2 separate regions of the Homo sapiens genome follow, and region 1 is linked to region 2. Evidence: promoter capture Hi-C in human tissues and cell types (Jung and others, 2019). All regions are on one chromosome and are shown on one strand. The core of a region is centred on a gene start or on the middle of the fragment in contact, and the rest is flanking DNA. Distances in the headings are between cores, read along the strand shown. Region 1 overlaps GPC6 (glypican 6). Region 2 holds the start of GPC6 (glypican 6).

Region 1 (2,700 bases), core at 118-2,617, 580 kb before region 2:
AGTTCAAAGTCTGTCACAGTGGCTGGCATTTGTATTTTTTGACAGGAACTAAAACTTTAAAAATTGAATGAAATATTTCAGCTCACATTAAAGGAAACTTAGTTATCCAACAGATTATTTGGAAGACAAATGTTGAGGATAGAAGACCTTGGCTGAAAGCATCTCATATAGAGAGAGGAGTTATTATGTACTTAAAGATCAGGCTAATTCTTACAATTTACATGATATTTTTTCCCTTTTCCTTTGTGTATACCTGTTAAATTAGCACTTGGAGTCTTTAGATAAGGCTCTTTACAAGAGCATGTGTGATCTTTACATGTGTCATCTTTACAAGAAATATATTTTGTGTAATATTCAGAATAGGATGAAAATGTTCTAATTTTTAAAATTGTTTTTACAACTTACACATAGAGCTATATAGTGTATAGTAATAACTATCCCATTAATCTAAATTAATCTAGTCTTTGCTGAATAAAATGTTAACATTTAGAACTGAGGTTTTATAACCAAGAAATTATTTGGCCTCCTTTGTATTATACAGACACTAGGGTGACTCAGGAAAGTGAAGTGTAAGTGGCCTACTTAATTTCATAAGTACAATGTTGTCTAAGTCACCCATCTACTCTTCATTAAGTCAGACTCATAATTTAAAACAAAATTATAATTCCTTAAACTGTTGCCTTTAGGGGAGTGACCGATGTCCCAGAAACCTCTTTGTCATGGATACAGATTACTGAAGACAGCATAGCACTGAATTAGAAGGGAAAGGGTCTTGAGTTTCCAGTATGTTCAAGTATATAACCTTTTGTAAGACATTTGATTATCTGTGAATTTATTTATCGCAAGTGAGTCTACTACTACCCTACGGGAGTCTACCATACACCAGTGTCAAGCCGTCACAGCCTTGAAGTATTTCTATCAAGCATTGAGTGTTTTTCAAGAGGAAGTGGACAGAAAGAATGCAAAAGTCATTGGCCTCTGTTAGACCAGTGGCTCTCAAAGTGTGTTCCCTGGATCAGTGGTGTCAGAACCAACCGGAAACTTGTTGGAATGTAAGTTCTTGCCTTCATGCCATTTTGTCTGAATCAGTAACTCCAGTTCAGGCACATCACACACTTCCCATGCCCACTAAAACTACTGACAATTTCATTTGGCCAGCCTCTGTATGTGGTACTTTCAACAACTAATTGACTTTATCAAATTCCCCTGAGGAATTACGTCTTGGGAATCTGTGCTTACCTTCTGAATTTGTCCACAAATCTTTAAATTTTCTAACACCCAAAAGAGATCTTTCCTTAAATCTCACCTTTCTATAATCCCAGTCATTTTTATTCATTAGTGGAGAACACCTGTAACAGCAGGAGCTACTTACATTTTAATTGTTTCTTGTTCCTCTAAATTGCTTGTCATTATAAAAGAAATGACAGAAGTGAAACGGGAGAAGAGCAATGTGGCAAGAAGTGTAAAGCCCATTTCCAGTGTTTAATTGCTATACAATGCTAAGAACAGATTAAAAAGATAAATCAAAAGTTTGCTGAAAAAAGTGAGGCCCCCAGTCAGTTTTATGGTTTCATTTGAGCTGCAAAGATATTATTATACACTCATTTACAAAACAATAAGCTCTTACTGTTTATGAAAGTTTAATCTCTTGGTTTATTGCCTTAATATATTTCACATTGGTAAGGTTTACTTTTAAATGAAATTTCTGACTGTCTTATGTTGATGTTATTTTATACTGAGAATACAGACAGGATGAGTATAACATCATAATTGTATTCATCTATGAAGCAATTAGAGTCAGGGTAATTGCTTCTAGTTCTCACATATCTGCATACAAAGTAATAGAATTAATATTTTATCATTTGGCAGTATCCCTTGTTAGCTAAGAATCCTAACATTGTATATTTTATCTGTCTGTCCACAGGAATTTAAGCAAAACCTAGATTAATATTTACCTCAATCTAGAACTGTGCCAAGTGGGCCGGATGTGGTGACTCACACCTGTAATCCCAGAATTTTGGGAAGCCAAGGAGGGCAGATCACCTGAGGTCAGGAGTTCGAGACCAGCCTGGCCAACATGGTGAAACCCCATCTCTACTAAAAATACAAAAATTAGCTGGCCATGGTGGTATGTACACCTTTAATCCCAGCTACTTGGGAGACTGAGGCGGGAGAATTGTTTGAACTCAGGAGGCAGAGGTTGCAGTGAGCCGCGACTGCGCCATTGCCCTCCAGCCTGGGTGACAAGAGTAAAACTCCATCTCAAATAAAAAATAAAAATGAATAAAATTGTGGCAAGTGAAAAAAAAATTATACGTTGTCCCCATTGCTCAACATATGCATCCAGCCAATGCACAATGGAACAGAGGCCCATGAACATACTCTCCAAATTGAGTAGACTAATGACAACCAAGGTGTGGCTTAAGAACCTCTCCTCCATTCCCGGTTATTTTCCAAGTGATCTCAAGGTTGCCAGTAAGCATGCATTCCATGGTGTTCAAAGAAAAGCATTCTTATTCAAAATATGTGTAGCTGATTTAATACTGAAATTTCTATAAAAACATCTTTACAGGTTTCTACAAAGAGAAAATTGAAAGAGCCAAAGAAGGAGAGCACAGTGACCTAAGGCATAGCGTGGTGAATGACTGACGAGACTCAAATCCTCAGCCAGAATCCACAGGACTAAGAAGGGCTAAATGA
Region 2 (2,700 bases), core at 35-2,534:
CTCTCCACCGCCCCTGCCGGCGCAAGGGCGGGAGTGGAGAAGGCGCCACTCAGACTGTGGCGCTGGGCAAACTGCGGTCGCAGTTCTTCCAAGTTTGCCCGAACCAGAACGCGGAGTGAGCGCCCGGCTCGGCTCTCCGTCTGCGCCTTGCAGCCGCCCCGGAGTGACCCGGGCTCCCTGGCCAGCCGGGCCTGAGCCATCAACTAAGGGGTAGAAGGGCGCGAGAGCAGCGGGAGGCGGGAGCCAGGGTGCTCCCGCGTGTGCACACAATGAGGCGGCGGAGACGCACACCTTCCCCCGCCGAAGAAGCCGCAGGAGCATCCGCCGCCCAACACGGAGACGCGGAGTCCCATAGCGGTGGCAGAAAGTGAGCACCAACTCAGCAACAGGGGGAAGGAAGGGGACGCCGGGCGGCCAGTGGGACGTGCGGCAGCCGAGGGCTGCAGCCTGCCCCTGCAGCGCGCCCGCGCTTACCTGCGATCTCCTGGTAGGGGATGTCCGCCAGGCTGAATCCCTTGGCACCGTACGCCTGGCGGACCTCTCCGCAGCTCCGAGCCTTCACATCCGCCCCGGCGGGGAGGGAGAGCAGCAGCCCCAAGAGGGGAAGAATCACAGCCCCGATCCAAGAAGGCATGGTGCAACATACAAATCCAGCTCGGTAAACCCCACGGCCGGTGCGCTCTTCACCTTGCCCCTCAAGCCGAAAGCCCGCCAGAGGCAGCGGCGCGCTCCTCGCCGCTGCCCAGCGTCACCCCCTTCTGCCAGCCGAGGGGACGAGCAGCGCAGCCCTCTGGACTGCGCTCAGCAAACTTTTATAAGCCAGATGGACGATGGCAAGCCAACAAGGGCTGGCTGGGAAGGCTGCTGCCTTGCTCCTCTAGCCCCCAGATGGAAACGGTGCAATCAAAACGAGGAAGAGAAGGAAAAGAAGTGTTTAAAAAACCACCATGGGGGTTCAGAGCTGCAATCCGAGTTCCGAGCCGCAGAATCCTGGAGCGCTGCGGGCTCGGCTCGCCGGAGTGTGCGGCAAAGGTGGGAGCGCGCGCCGGCTCCCCCGGGAGGGAGATGGACAAGCGAGAGCGAGTGTGTATGCGCGCGTGTGTCTGTTGGTGTGAGCTCGAGGTTCTTGGGGATGTGTGTGCGTGGAGGTATGTGTTGGGGATATACGAGATCTAGGGGAAACCTCAGCTTAACACAGGCTGTGGGAGCCTGTGAGAGTCCTCCTGAAATAGGAAGAGAGAAATCCTGGAGACAGTCACTGGAGGCAAGAGGGAAGGAGAAAGGAGGGGGGAGAAAGAAACGTGCTACACATTGCACAGCCGAAATTCACAGGCCGAGTCAAAGGCAAAACCTGGACTGGATCTCTTCCTAGTCGGTAGAAAGGGGAAAAAAAGAAAAAGAAACGTACCTATTTTCTTATTCACTTCACATCCTTTATACCGATCTGAAATGACATCAATAAACAATCTAGAAAGACAAGGTAATTTTAAGTCATTAACATGTTATTAAGCTGTATTTTTATGGAGGTAAAGGATAACGCAGTTCCAATTGTTGCTCTTAATATGTGTCCCTGACCTACTGAAACACAAAGCCAGAGTGGAAATAGTCATAGACGGGAGTTCATGGGTGGCAGAGCACAATCACGGCTCTAACTAGTTGCCTAATTTCTGTTTGACTTTGTTTTTTTCTAAAGGCACACATTACAGACTGGTAGTTCTTAATTTTTAAAGGTTTGGTTCTAGACTCAACAATTTCCCCTTTTTTTATTTCAAATATCTCATAGCCTTCGATCAGAAATCATTATGCTTAGGTTTCTAATGTGTGGAGGATCGGGAAAGCTAACAACCAGACCACAGAAGCAACAAGAAAAGGAGAGCACAAGGGTCAGAGGTGCATAAAGGGACATAATGGGGGAAGGGAGGTGATTCCTTCCCTCTCACTAGATGCCCTCACATAGTAGACTTAACATTTTCTTCCAAGTTAACATAATTCTCAAGTGGAGAATCAATCCAATTTCTTCTTCCTGTCTCCATTTACACTGATGTTCTGTGAACGGGATAAAAGTGAAAATTCAGGTTTGCCTAATTGACTTTGTTATGCTAATGGACGCACTAAAGTCAGCTGGCAGAAGTGTGTGTTGAAACCCAGAGCTCCTGAAACTACTAAGATAGTTTAATGAAAACCAAGACAAAATAATAATAATAATAGTGTTTATTCACTTACGTGGCTATGTGTCATAGGTCAGCACATTATTCACAAACTACTACAAGGTAATGCACAGTTTTGTGGAGCTCACCTATGAAGCTACACATGAAGATGTTTTCCTGATGATGATATGAATGACCAGAATGACTCATGAAGTTTAAATCTTTGAGTTTGTCATTATCATCACAACATATTAGGTACATTGTCTTCCTCTCTTTAATAAATTCCCCCTCTCCTAACCACCAAAAAGACTCTCAAGATTCAACCTCATTTAACCTTTCCAAACGCTTTAAAAATGAAGTCGACTTATTTACAGAGCCACTTTGTCTTCTTCAAACTCATAGGTCAAGACAAAACAAAACCAAAAAAAAAAAAAACAAAACAAAACAAAAAAAAAAACTCCATAGCTAAATCTTTCTGAAAACGCAACACACTTAACTTTTTTTCTCTTAAAATTTTAGCACAGTTTTTTGCTTTCACAATATTTATGCTAAC

What was found. Contacts are between HindIII fragments. The study calls those that stand out against the background at their distance.
Region 1: a fragment that was not itself captured here is called in contact with the fragment with the promoter of GPC6 in region 2 in 2 of the 25 tissues and cell types used here (mesenchymal stem cells and pancreas).

The regions. Positions count from the first base shown.
Region 1 is chr13:93,805,919-93,808,618 of GRCh38, reverse strand. All of the region lies in intron 2 of GPC6 (glypican 6), which reads right to left. Among named protein-coding and RNA genes, the nearest start is that of GPC6-AS2, 51 kb to the left of the region's middle. The HindIII fragment of the contact is 5,761 bases long and covers 1-2,700 here.
Region 2 is chr13:93,225,391-93,228,090 of GRCh38, reverse strand. GPC6 (glypican 6) reads right to left here and starts at 1,284. Exons shown (of 9, transcript NM_005708.5): 1 at 475-1,284. The coding sequence starts at 634. RefSeq lists an enhancer at 1-691. The HindIII fragment of the contact is 15,285 bases long and covers 1-2,700 here.